Regions from separate parts of the Homo sapiens genome. Here all the other regions are linked to region 5. Evidence: promoter capture Hi-C in 16 types of primary human blood cells and fetal thymus (Javierre and others, 2016). All regions are on one chromosome and are shown on one strand. The core of a region is centred on a gene start or on the middle of the fragment in contact, and the rest is flanking DNA. Distances in the headings are between cores, read along the strand shown. Region 1 overlaps CHRM3 (cholinergic receptor muscarinic 3). Region 2 has its middle 68 kb from the start of CHRM3-AS1. Region 3 overlaps LOC105373224 (a long non-coding RNA gene). Region 4 overlaps LOC105373224 (a long non-coding RNA gene). Region 5 holds the start of CHRM3 (cholinergic receptor muscarinic 3).

The links. Contacts are between HindIII fragments. The CHiCAGO score rates a contact against its expected background, and 5 or more counts as called.
Region 1: a fragment that was not itself captured here is called in contact with the fragment with the promoter of CHRM3 in region 5 in 13 of 17 cell types (activated CD4 T cells, naive CD4 T cells, total CD8 T cells and 10 more); the score reaches 21.8 in activated CD4 T cells.
Region 2: a fragment that was not itself captured here is called in contact with the fragment with the promoter of CHRM3 in region 5 in 2 of 17 cell types (activated CD4 T cells and non-activated CD4 T cells); the score reaches 6.9 in activated CD4 T cells.
Region 3: a fragment that was not itself captured here is called in contact with the fragment with the promoter of CHRM3 in region 5 in 3 of 17 cell types (total CD4 T cells, non-activated CD4 T cells and naive CD8 T cells); the score reaches 5.4 in total CD4 T cells.
Region 4: a contact is called between a fragment that was not itself captured here and the fragment with the promoter of CHRM3 in region 5, in 5 of 17 cell types (total CD4 T cells, naive CD4 T cells, non-activated CD4 T cells and 2 more). The highest score is 9.5, in total CD4 T cells.

The regions. Positions count from the first base shown.
Region 1 is chr1:239,910,866-239,913,565 of GRCh38, forward strand. It overlaps CHRM3 (cholinergic receptor muscarinic 3), which reads left to right. Exons shown (of 7, transcript NM_001375978.1): 7 at 1-2,700. Among named protein-coding and RNA genes, the nearest start is that of CHRM3-AS1, 12 kb to the left of the region's middle. The HindIII fragment of the contact is 1,531 bases long and covers 592-2,122 here.
Region 2 is chr1:239,966,098-239,968,797 of GRCh38, forward strand. No RefSeq gene overlaps it. Among named protein-coding and RNA genes, the nearest start is that of CHRM3-AS1, 68 kb to the left of the region's middle. The HindIII fragment of the contact is 1,399 bases long and covers 735-2,133 here.
Region 3 is chr1:239,949,101-239,951,800 of GRCh38, forward strand. All of the region lies in intron 1 of LOC105373224 (a long non-coding RNA gene), which reads right to left. Among named protein-coding and RNA genes, the nearest start is that of CHRM3-AS1, 51 kb to the left of the region's middle. The HindIII fragment of the contact is 948 bases long and covers 875-1,822 here.
Region 4 is chr1:239,927,088-239,929,787 of GRCh38, forward strand. The region is part of intron 1 of LOC105373224 (a long non-coding RNA gene); the gene reads right to left. Among named protein-coding and RNA genes, the nearest start is that of CHRM3-AS1, 29 kb to the left of the region's middle. The HindIII fragment of the contact is 5,383 bases long and covers 1-2,700 here.
Region 5 is chr1:239,385,131-239,387,830 of GRCh38, forward strand. CHRM3 (cholinergic receptor muscarinic 3) reads left to right here and starts at 1,438. Exons shown (of 7, transcript NM_001375978.1): 1 at 1,438-2,097. RefSeq lists enhancers at 2,160-2,660, 2,661-2,700. The HindIII fragment of the contact is 9,736 bases long and covers 1-2,700 here.

The sequences.
Region 1 (2,700 bases), core at 107-2,606, 530 kb after region 5:
CTTTGACAACAGTAGAAGTGTACTCAGTGGTGTCTGTGTATCTGAACTATTTAATTTCGTGTTATGTTTATATGCAGAAATATTTATGGATACTACACCAAGTGTTTATTTAATGTTGATAAATATGACTCTTCAGTCGTCAGCCATGGTGTCCTTTCAAAGTGATTCTTTAAGGTCCACTTGAGCAATGAATAGAGTATATTGGAGCTTTCCTGTGGCTAAGAAGAAGAAACATGTCATCCTGTTGGCATCACCAAGCACCTAACTCTTTCTAGGTAATAAAAAGTCAACGGTCACTTCAACGTAAATGTTTAAAACCACTCTTTAGTTAAATCTGATGGGAACTGAACAAAGCTCCACCATTGTGTCTGAAATCATTTTACACAGGGAAAAAAAAAAACAATCAGCATAATTGTAAGAATGATTTTTTTGGGCCCACATTCAACCAAAGAACAAGAAAGAAACAGACGATTTTCTAATATGTACACAGCAAACTACAGAATGTCATATTATCCACCTGTGAAACATCTAGTAAGCAATTGCATCTATATTTTATTTCTCAAGTTGGCCTGGCACTAATAAATATGTGAAAGCTTATTCAAGTGTCCCAGTACTTCAGCACTTCCCATCCTTTTGGAAACTCCTATCTTGCCTCCCTCCCAAAAGGGCTGTTTCTTTTATTAAAAAAAAAAAAGAAATAGAATTAAATTTGAGAAAAGGAGAAACCCTGAAATTTAACAGAACTTTGAGAGTCACTTCCAATCTCCTTAAACATGATTATCTCCTTATCCTTGTCCTTTTGTGATGCTAATAATAGCAGAAAAGGAACAAATCCAAGACTCTAGGTCTCCCTTTTTTGTTTTACTGGTTTTATTATAGAATTGTTTTTAAGCCTCTTATGGATGAAAGCTGCATTTAAATACTATCTACTGATTTTATAGAAAGGTATGTCCATTTCTTGGGTCACTTTCAGAGAAAGAAAACAAGCAAAATAGGTTCTTTTGAATATGAATAATTTAAAAGCATAATTGAAGATGTAGTGAGTATTTATAATTGGACCTTAGTTACACGTGCATTTCTCAAAGGGCTTGTCATTACAGGAGATATTCAGCACTTACCTAAGATCAAAATGTCTTCATCCCAAATTGGGAATCGAATTATTTCATGCCATATGCATGAGGTTTGCAGACATTTCAAGATTAGCCACTTTGCTTGAAAGAAGAAAATGATCAAACCTAAAATAAACTACACATGGAGAATCTCTCTCTCTCTCTCTGCCTCTCTCTCTCTCTTTCTCCCTCTTCTTCCTTCTCTCTCTCTCACAAGCACACACACACACACTCAATCTCCATTCTCCAGGCATTGCCAGATGGTTAGGAGAAGTGAGCTCTCTCTGGTCCCCTAGATCCCTCGGCTCTGCTCTCCTTTGCCCATCAGCTCCCTGTGGCCTCTATGCTAGTCCTCCCTATTCTCCTAGTCACCCTTTGCCTCTTAAGCCCAGCCTTGACTCTCTACATATTTTTCATTTCTCTTTACCCTTTAGTGTACAATAGTTGTAGACTCTGACGGAATGAAAACAAACAAGAAGCCTAAGCGTTAGACCCTGCTGTGGCTAAAGATCTAGAAGGCATATCAGTTTTCTCTGTCAGGCTTCCTACGTTGCCCTCGTGCAGGGCTCATTGCTCTGCAGAGCGCTGGAAGCCCCTTCATGTATCGAGAGAGAAGCTGGAGCACAGAGCTCTGATGCACAGTTGGCTGTTTCAGCTCTGACTCAGGGAGGAAAGAAGGATGCCAAGGCTCTGTCACAGCGGAGAAGTCTAATACCAGAGTGGCACAGAGAAGGATTCCAGGGATCAGTCAGGGTGTCCTGTACCTATCTGAGTAGAGATGATTCAAGGATGGGGACATATTCCAGGAAATTGCACAATCTTCCCCTGGCAGCTTCAGAGGACGAGTGAAAATAGTGCAGTATAGTCAAAGAAGCAATGAATTTAGGATGAGGAACCTGAAGTTTCTGGACCAGTTTGGTCACTGCTTAGTTACATGTCCTTAGGAATGCTTGTCACTTAACCTAAACTTTCTGGGTTTTATCCTCATTGCTCAAACTAAGCAACAACACCGAAGCTTCTCTAATTTGCCTTCTGATGCCAAATCGGTCAAAACTGAGGTCAGCAGCTACCATGACGAAAGTAAAATGGTATATTGGGTGAATGTTTGAAAATTTCAGATTTTATATTCTGTAAAGTTATTTACTTACTCTATTTCAACACCACAAAATCTTGAAATTTGGAAGGTAACCAAGGAAGCTTTGAAATTTGTTGGCAAACCCGGAGTAGTATGGTTTCAAATACCACTCCAACCCAGCACCTGAGGTCGGGCAAACTCACAAAATAGAGTTTCTAGGTAGCAGGTGTTTGCTTTGGTTTTGCAATAGCATTTCTCATAACAGAACTGAAACTGTATAGATTACAACACTCCAAAGTTATTTTTTTTTAACCTAAAGAACCCTACTTCTAGCACCTCCTCTGAAAGAATATTTTGCTCCAATACCACGTGCAACAAACTTATTTAGACAGTATCAACTCTAGCCCTTAATAGGTTCAAGGACAAGTTTACTGCTTCCTTTCTACACGCTTAAGTTACACTCTCTTCTCCTGTTCTGATGACTCTAAATCTTCAGCCTCTCCCAGCATTAATGTG
Region 2 (2,700 bases), core at 184-2,683, 580 kb after region 5:
AACTTACTATTTAACTCATTCCTTTGTTTAATGACACAATCTTGATTTTTATTCTGATAATCTCTGATTGAATAAACAATGAGTTGCCAGGTGCCAGAATGACATGAGAAATCTTTATTACAACTCCTGATCCATGATTGAATTTGAACCTGTGAATTGCTGAAGTCTTGAACACTTAAAGGAAATAATGTAATGCAGTTAGTTGATGTCTAGGTCTTCTCTGACCTTCTATCCCTACCTCATCCTAGAGCACCAGGAACCTTCCCTAGCACAGCACTAAGGTCCCAGCAGGACAACTGCTCTGTCACTGACCAGCTCTGCTCCTGACTGTCTGGCTCCATGGGGCCAGAGATTTATCTGGTTCACCTTTGTATTTCTAGTGTCCACTCTGCTGATTGCATTGTCATCGTAGGTACTCAATAATTTTTTATTAAATGAATAAATATGGTGAGTCAAAATTCACAATCTGATTATTGGTCTTTATATATCTAAACTTTCCTTCCCTTCTTCCTTCCTTCCTTCCTTTTTGTTTCCATTGAAAGTCTGAGACTGAAACCACATCGCTGAGTGGAGGAACCTAACTTGCTTCATGCCAAGAGTCACTCATCACAAAGCAGGGGAAAGCCTTCCTTTGATTGAGATTGGCCACCAGACATAAAAAAGAGTATCAGAGAGGATTTTTAAAACATGCCTCATGTGAAACCATCACCTACATCCTACACTGAGGCTTACCAAGCTTCTTCAGGAGACAAAACAGCATCTCCCTGGAGGAAAGTAAATCTCCGTTTTTTTGTTTCTCTGGTTTTCTAAAGTGGGCAAATGTTGGTTTTTACAAGAAAATATCCTTGGTCCTCGACTTCTGTGGCATCCCATGAGCATCAGAACACAAACTGCCCAACACACACAAAAATTGCATGCTCTATTCAGATCAATAAAGCAAGATGGAAAATTAACTAAATGCAGGGCTTTCTAGGGCCATTAAAATAATTCATCAGGGCAAGGTGTGATGGCTCATGCCTATAATCCCAGCACTTTAGGAGGCCGAGGCAGGCGGATCACCTGAGGTCAGGAGTTCAAGACCAGCCTGGCCAACATAGCGAAACCCCGTCGCTACTAAAAATACAAAAATTAGCCATGCATGGTGGTGGGCAGCTGTAATCCTAGCTACTCAGGAGGCTGAGGTGGGAGAATTGCTTGAACCTGGGAGGCAGAAGTTGCAGTGAGCCAAGATCGTGCCACTGCACTCCAGCCTGGGTGACAGAGCAAGACTCCATCTTACTTTAAAATATAATAACAATAATAATTCATCATAATATGCTGAGTTAAACAAGAGGCAAACCTGAATAAACAAAGTTTCTATGTACACCCAGGTCATAGGATAGAATTCATGTTGAATATTCCAGCATTTCTTAACAGGCAATTAGGAATTTGTTCTAATTGTTTTACTGTGCTCTCTGTGGACATATTGTCTATATGATTAGCGTGTGAGACACCAAAAAGCAGCAACTCCTACTCATCTTTTCATTGTTTTACTTAGAAAATTGGTTAAATTAGGGAATAGTTAAATAACGTTGCCAGGATTCCATTTGTAGCCAGTTCTAGTCTCTTTTATCAGTAGTTTGCTTTGCCTTTCAGTTAGTTGTTCATGGAAAAAATATATAAATTACTTATTCTACAAGTAAACATCAACACATACAATGGGATACCACTCATCCTTTAAAAGAAATGAGATCTACTATATGGATGAACTTTGACAACATTATGCTAAATGTAATCAGCCAGGCAGAAATGTACAAATATTGTACGATTCCACATGTATGAGGAACCTAGAATAGGCACCGTCAGAAACAGAGAGTTGATAGAGATTCCTATGGGATGAGAGTTAGGAGGATTGCGGAGTTATTGTTTAATGGACACAAAGTTTTGGTTTGGTACAATAACAAATTTCTGGAAATGAATAATGTGAATAGACTTACTATCACTGAGTTGTATACTTCAAATAGTTAATATGGTAAATTTAATGTTATTATCTTTTATCACAATTTTTAAATGGCCCAAATAAGTACAAATCAACATAACATTATTTATTTGCTCACTAGATAGGAAATCATATTATTAAATTTCTTTATAAAAAGCTTAAATGTGAAATCTTTTTGTCCAAAAAATGTATGTCCAAAAAATAGATCAAAGTAGCTCTGGAAACCCTTCAGACATTAAGAATAAGATAGCTGGGAAAGAAATAGTGAAGGCCAGCTCTGATTGCCAGACAGAACTGTGGGCAGCCTGAGGAGACCTATCACTGACATGTCCTCAATAACTCCACCACAGGATAGATATTCAGCAACCATTTGGCTTTGCTTTCAATTAAAAAGATTACCTTTTCATTTAACTTAAAAAGTTGAAATTCCATGGGATCACTTGCTGATTGCCATGACTTAAAAAATAGACATATTTAAGTTTTAACTTGGCTTTTAATTTTATAGGAAGAGTGTGAAAGTGTAAAGGAGGAGAGAAAGTGTCACCTTTTCTTTTCGCGCGAGAAAGCGTGACTTCAAGATTGGCAAAGGCATAAAATATGGAATCCTTATGGGATGCATCTGGGTGGGCTGATGCTGGCAATTCTACCCCTAGAAATACCCAAAAGAAATAAAAGCTAACGTATATGTCAAAACTTTTACATAGATGTTCAAAGAGGTATTA
Region 3 (2,700 bases), core at 99-2,598, 560 kb after region 5:
AAAAACACTAGCCATTGATGTAGTATAGTCTTTTTTGGTTTTTGTTTTCCTTTAAAGGAATTTGCCCTTTAAACAGGCAGGGAGTCTCATGCCATTCTCAGTCCCTCCCCCAACAGCAGCCTGCCCGGGCCTGCTCCTCTGCGAGACACTGTAACTGAAGTATCGCTCCTGTCGAGGTATCCTACAAACAGTCACAGCTCCCGTTCCCGTCTCCATCTGATTACGTCTGTGGAAATTCACTGTCCATCTCCATGACCCACTTGGCTTTTTTTTTTCCGAGATGGAGTCTTGCTTTCTTGCCCAGGCTGGAGTGCAGTGGCGCGACCTCGGCTCACTGCAACCTCTGCCTCCCAGATTCAAGCGATTCTCCTGCCTCAACCTCCCGAGTAGCTGGGATTACAGGTGCCCGCCACCATGCCTGGCTAATTTTTGTATTTTTAGTAGAGATGGGGTTTCACCATGTTGGCCAGGGTGTTCTTGAACTCTTGACCTCGAGATCCGCCTGCCTCAGCCTCCCAAAGTGCCGTGATTACAGGCATGAGGCACCATGCCCAGTCACCACTTGGCTTTTCCAGTAGCCAGAGAGGCAAGGAAAATAAGGAACAGTGGGCATTACCAACTTGCATTTCTCAAGGGGTTGATGACACTGCTCACCCCTCGGTCTCCTCCATGGATGATGTGCTGCGTTCAGTTTCCTCTCAGGAAGGTGTAGTTCTAGGGACCTCTACTTGGGCCTTCCTTTCTTAATAAGCAAAATTTTTGGGATCAGAAAAAAAAATGTGGAGATTCTACCAGTTGCTAAATCTACCTATTCCCATTATCCATTCTGGAACTGGAGAGTAACCACAGGAGGAGGCCATGGTTCCACTGGACAAGCTTAACCTGCGGCCAAGGCAGCTCCTGTCCCCAGACCTCCAAAGCCCCTGCTTCAACTGATGGGCCACACAGCATTTCTGATGTTGGGGATTCAAAATATGCTCAGAACATATAGACAAAATTCTCCAGAAAACGCATGTAGATGTTTCCCTTCTTCCAGAGTGTGGTCACAGCAGTAATTGCCTTTGACTTTGGGGCCATTTGGGGAAGCTGATGGAAAAGATACATGGCACATATCTGAGACTCCATTGCAGGGCCATTCCTTGAAGGGCTCCAATCTCTTCCTCAGCATAGGAGCTCAGAGTCGGGCCATTGCTGGCTTATGTTTCATAACTAGTTTAGAGACAGTGAATCCTCACTGTAGCAACAATCATATCTAGAATTGTTTTCTTGGTAGGCCATCCATCAGTTTCATTTGTAAGGACACCTGATCAATTACCCCACACCACGTATCCTTGTGGGTCACACTCTCTAATTCCCATCCTGCCCCCGTGGCATACTGTGTGGCATACTGTGTAAAGGACAGCCATGCACAGGGCTCTTCAAAGACGCTGGCGCCTCCCTTGCCAATGCTGTGATGAAAAGTGTGAGCTCTGCTTCTCCCAGCAGGCAAGATTAGGGATGGCTGAGCAGACTGCACATCATAGCTCCATCCCACCATGCCTGTCCTTATGCATTCCAACTCCTTCCTCCCTCCCTCGGCAGTGTGGCAAGGACATTTTAGCATTCTGACCTCATTATCTGGAGGCCATGATAAGGCCAGAATATCAACACCACTAGCAGGTGGTCAACCCAACACTTGGAACCCAAATCCATAGAGAGCACTCTCATGTCAATGAATTCAGTCCAATCAAGACCTTTATTTTGCTCCTTGGTCCACCGCCTTGGACCGACTCCCACTCCTGCTGCCCAGGCTTTTGCCAGCATGGACCTGCAAGGTCCCATAAGCTTTCAGCGTATAGTCGTCTCCTCCAGGGCAGTCCTGGCAACACTCTATCCTGGCTATTTTAACATCTATCTTTAGATCTGTCTTTTCTTACGGGTTCCCAACTGTACAGTGAAGCAAGATCAAGCAGTTCCTTCATTGCACAGATGACCTCCACCCTAAGTGAAGAGTGAATCTGAGGGGACAAACGGAAGTTATCTGTACATCAAGCTAACAATGGATTTTTAAACAGAAATCAGAACAATCTTTTAGAGGTAATGGATACATGTACACTTCTTTAATGGCAGTGATGGTTTTGTGGAATATATTTCAAGACTCATGGAATTGTACATTTTAAATTGATTGGTTCTTTGTGAAATTGATTATACTTCAAAAACCCTTAAAGAAATTTAAATACTAACACACCTGGGAATTTGAGCACTTTATACTGATCAACATAAAATATAAATAAACCATTCATATTGCAAAACGTATTATGGAGTCATAATGAGGAATTCTGGAAGGCTAGAATAATTATATGTAACGGTGTATTATGATTCACACCGCTCATGTGTATGAATACATGTTACATACGATTATATGTAACAGTGTATTACGAAGCTAGAGTTTAATTTATTGAAGCCATTTCTACTTTTATTTTTATTTCTAAAGAATATAAAACATTTTTAAACTCCAAATTTAATATGTTATCTAAGTGAAACAAAGTCAAATGCAAAAATGTCAATATCTGCCTTGTGAAAGGCAGAAGGTCCTTGGAAGTCAATGATAAGACATAAATGAAAGGCCACCAGAGGGCAGTGCAGGACTGCTTAGGACAATGAGTGCCCCACCTCAACATTTCCACAAGCTAGCATTGAAAACACGTTTTATCATCTTAC
Region 4 (2,700 bases), core at 92-2,591, 540 kb after region 5:
GGTGAAAAAGCTGGTAGCACCAAGGCACAGCAGAAGTGGAACTTCTGAGATATAAATTTGAGGGACTTTTTAAAAAAAAAAGGTTATAAAATTAAAAATGAGAACCTCTTATAATTTAAGAGCGAATTAATATCTTAAGAAAATCTTATTTAAATATAGGGAGCTAAATTTTAGAAAAATTATTATAAATTATTTTATAAAATTGTAACTAACTAAGACAGGGTCTGACTTTGTTGCCCAGGATGGAATGCAGTGGCCTGAACAAGGCCCACTGCAGCCTTGACCTCCCAGGCTCAAGTGATCTTCCCACCTCAGTTTCCTGAGTAGCTGGGACTGTAGGCACGTGCACCAGCAAACCTGACTAATTTTTCCACTTTTTGTAGAGATGGGTTTTTGCCGTGTTGCCCAGGCTGGTCTGGAACTCCTGAGCTCAAGCCATCCACCTGCCTTGGCCTCCCAAAGTGCTGGGATTGCGGGCATGAGCCACTGCACCCAGACATAAACTTTTTTCTAATAAATTGTCTTTTATGAACCTTATTATTACTTTCATAGACCATCAATGACATTCTTAAATTTTTGCTTTGTCCTAAACCAAGTTCTTTTTTAAATAACTAATAATTTTATTTTAGGACAAAAATTTACCATACTAAATTTTTTCATTTATTAAAACTATTTTTATAGTCATAACCTTTAAAATATTTCTCTCTCCTACTTCCTGGGTTTTCTTTAACCTTGTTTTGTGAATAACTTTCCAGGTCTATAATTTAAATCAACCTTTAGATAATTTCTGAATTAGACAAAATTATTCTTTTTTTAATAAGAACATATTTTTGGTACACTTTATATACAGAATTACATATTAACTAGAATCTTTATTCTTAGTAACCTTAAATTTTAGTGAAAACCAAGGAAGCAAGAAATTTTGAATTGTCTGCCAGACATTCATACTTTATGGATGAGAACCACTCCACAATTTTTAGAAACATTTTTTTTTAATATCATAACCCTTTCTTAGTTGGAAATAATGGTTATTTAAGATAATTTTAAGATTTCAATTATACAAAAGTTTACCCATAAGCATTTGTCTCATTTATATTAATTTATTTTTTTTAACAGTTTAACTAGATTACTTATGAAAACTGAGATATTAGACAAAGATAGTCATCATTTAAAATTATTCCTCTGTTAACCATTTTTATAGCCTCTGAATATCAGGTGTTTACCTAAGTAGAAACTTAGAGTAAACATATGGATACTTTTGCCAATAACTCAGAAGGTTTAGCTGTTTTCATTAAACCAACAACATCAAATTGGCCCTATTTATCAAAAATATATACAAATAAAGATTATTTTGTTTTTGGCTGGGTTTATAGCTTTGTATGCTTCATGCCAAACCCTGACACCATAATACATTTAGCAAAGACAAATATAAAACCATTTAGCCAATAAACCCAGACACAAATGTATGCTGATAATTTTGAAGATATTTAATTTTAATTTTATTTATAATTTTAAAGCCAGTTTTTAAATTAAAGATTTATTTAAATCACATTAACTTGAAAGATATTTGGAGTTATGTACTTAATTTATGAGTGTTTTATTATTTATAAGCCAAGTTGGTATCGTGTAGACTTAATATATAACACAATATATGTTTATATAAGTAAATTTATCTAAACACACACACATATAAACAAGGATTTTACAGCTTTTACTTCGGAATTCTAGCCATGAGATGGTAATACAAACTCACCAGTTTATAAAAGATGGCTGAATCTGAATTATTTTGGACAAAATTGGGAGCCTGTCCACATGGCTAAACTTTGTGTGCCTTGGTAGGTAGTCCAATGAAGGCTGTGAACCAAAGAAGTTTTTACGGGAAAAAAACATTTTTATCCTTTCCCCTCCACTCCCAGTTTTAAATGAGTTTTAATGTTTACATTTCAGCTAGTACTGGCAGAACTGTATAAGAAAAACAAAATCCCCAAGTAACTTTGAGTTAGTAGTACCACGAACAGAGAGTTTTATCTCAAAACCAGTAGCTTAATAATAGCAGATTAGAAGTAGGCAGAAAAGAAAATAAAGAGAAAGATTCACAAAGAGTTTTTAATCCTATAGCTGCAAATCAACCTTTTGAGTTCTGGATTTTCCTCACTGTCATTTGCCCATCAGTTTAAAATGTGCACAATAGCAGGCCATGTATGTAACCAGCTGGAGTCCTAGAAAACATGGCGTGCCTTTTAACTTTCCCAGAGTTTTTGCAGTTTTTCTGCCCTTAGTGGATAAATTACTCATTGTACTGATCTAAAGAGGACACCTCTTGTTTTCCCAATTCTCAAGATGCAGCCTAATGGGGCTGCCTGGAGGAACCTAACCAACATTTCCCATTCTGGCTGAGAGGACTCACACGACAAAAACACAGATGCTAGTCACTCTGCTCAGTGCCCAGATCTGACGTGGAAAGATTCAACCTTGCCTCTGCGGGCCCCGGCACCTTTGATCCAGGGATCAAAGTGGAAAGGAATGACCTGTGCCCAGGAGTTCAGCAGGTGGTCTCTGGGCAAGGTGGAAAAGTGGACGGCCACCCTAAGTGAGGCCTGCTGAGCTTTCACTAGCAATTCCTTTAGGGATATTTTTCACAAATATAAACGTACATAACAAGACAAAGACAAACAAAAGGCCTTCCAAAATAAAGTTTTA
Region 5 (2,700 bases), core at 188-2,687:
ATTTGATTGTTTTAAAGATTAAAGAAGTATCTGAAAGTAACTGTTATATTTTCTTCTGAGAGGTATCCCAATAAAAAGGCTACAATATTGTTATTATTATTACTATTCTAGTATCCTGGATGCAATTTACCTAAGCCTAGATATTTTAATTAATTTAAGTAGCCACATGCTTTCTCACTAGCTATTTTCCCAGCATGATCTCAATCTTTTCTACGCAAAGTTTAGTCTCTTCTCTCCTAAAGATTGTTCTACCTAGAGAAGAATATAGGTTCAGAAAGGAATTCATATACTGGTGTTTCTCTAATCTCTTAGAATTACTTAATTTTTCAAAGAGCTCTATCTTTTCCTATTTATCTTCTTGTTCCAAATAGAATTAAAATCATTTGCTGCCTTTAATATTGTTAAATATTTCATTTCATACTATGCTTCAATTTCTTGCTTTTTTCTTCTTTTTATCTTCCTCCTTCCTTCCTTTTTCTTTCTTTTCTTCTTTTTCAGTTATCATTGTTATGCTTGTCCTTTCTTGTGAGATTCCTCTGTTATCTTTCCTTATGTGCTTTTTAAACAAAACCTCGAGAGTGCCGTGGGACAGCCTCATTGGTATCTTTTCAAATTTGGTATCTCTCCACTTTTTCCTTACATAGTTAGCTGGCAGTAGTACATAATAACCTTTTCTGTCTCTCTCTCTTTCTTTCTTTCTTTCTTTCTTTCTTTCTTTCTTTCTTTCTTAGATTTTCATTCCTCTTGAGCTTTAAAAGACTGGCTAGCAATGTTATATCTTTCATTTTATTTTCTGATTTAAAAAAGTGTGTGTGTGTGTGTGTGTGTGTGTGTGTGTGTGTGTGTGTGTACGCGCGCGCGCGCGCGCGTGCACGTCAGTGTCTTCTTCATGGATGCTTGTCTTATTTTCTCCCAAGGTGTAACTGTCCAGGGAGGGAAAAGTCAAGTCGTCCTCTATTACACTGCTCTGCAGAAACAGACTCACTAAATGTCAAAAAGTAGATGCATCAGACTGTTCCTTAGAGAAAGGTTTGCCATGGAGTCGTATATTGTAACTGAGCTGAAGTTCACTCATCGATAAGTTGTGCCCAAGGAATCGAATTCCTTCCAGTCCTTCTAAGCAGTCCAGGGAAACCAATTTAAAAGCGAACACAACAAAACTAACAGACCGGCAAAATCTATCTTTGAAGCGCCGCGGGAGGCACAATTTGGGAACAGGTGAGGCCATGCTGGGTGGGTGAGGCCCCCCTCTCTCCTGCTTGGTGTTCCGCTTTCAGCCAACCCACCCCAGGAGTACCCTGGGATCTCCTCGCCCCCTGCCAGGCGGAGAACGCGGAGCCCAGCGGGCACGCGGGAATGGAGCTAGGCGCCGGCAGGGCAACTGGGCATGCTCAGAAGCCGGGCAGGTTTTGGTCTCAAGCACGCAGCCTGTGCATTACACCAGCTCTCTCAGTCCGGGGAGGAGGAGGAGCAGGAGGAACGCGAGGAGGAAGGAGAGGAGGAGCGGCCAGCAGTAGCCACGACCGCCACCACCAGGCAGAGGAAGAGTTCGTGGGGAGGAAAAGACCTCTCCTCCCCCTTGGAGCGCCTTCTCTCTGCTTTTGGAGAAAGGGAATACACGATAAAGAAGGAGACGGAAAGAAGAGAAAAAGTGAGGCGGGAGACAGAGGGAAAAGGGCGTGAACAGAAAGGGCCGGAGCGTGCAGGGGAGCACAGGGCGCGGGGGCGGCACTGCCGAGCCGGGAGCGCTGCCGCTTGGGCAGGTGCCGCGGCCGCTGCCCGGAGGCGGCATGTGACGCGCGGCCGCAGCTGCCCGCGGGCGGAGCGCTCTCAGACCCCGGAGCGCACACCGCGGGGCCATCGGTGCCATCGCGGATCTCCAGGCTCCTCATCAGTCCGCCGGGGCCGCAGCAGCGCTTCTGGGAAGACGGGCGATGAACTGAAGGGCGGCTCCGGGCAGGGGGGCACGATCTTAAGGACAGTCGCTCCCTGAACGCGGAGCCGGAGGAGACGAAGGGAAGGTGGAGCGGACGCCACCCGCGCACCGGGCAGGCGCGGAGACCGGCGTGGGACAGCCACCTGGAGCGCAGCTGCCAGGTAGGGACGGCGCCCGCCACCCAGGCGCTGGGCAGAGCGGGTGGCGGTAGCGGCTGACCTGGTTTCTTGCCTTATCTCGTTGCGAAAGGAGGAAAAAGTTTTCGGCGCGGGTAGGAGAGGTCTTGTGTTTGGAGTCCAAAGAAGGGGCTGGGTAGGGACGAGAGAGGCTGTTGATTTGGGGAAGATGGGGGCACTTGAATTCCGACAGCGCGATCTGGTGCGGAGTTGGAGTTCTGGGACTGAGGGTGGGGAACGCCCGCTGGCACTCAAGTGCCCCGAAAGGGACGGGAATCATGCGAGCGGTGGCCGGGAGAGAGTCGGGGACGTCCCACCCCGCTCTCCCTCGCTTCGATTCTCTCTTCGCCACTGCCGGATCTGAGGCTCCAAAGTGCCCGAGCATGAGGAGCTACTGGGCTCCGGGTGTGTTTGTGAGCGCACTCGTGTGTTGAGCGTTTGTCTCCCATCTCCCCATTTGGTTTCCTGTCATTTCTAAGAAGGCTAAAGCTGGCACCCGCCAACCTCGCAGTGGGGCCGCAAGTTCGGATTGCATTTCAGGGGGCGAGAAGGCAAATTTGGCACTTCGAGTAACACTTGGGCGAAGGT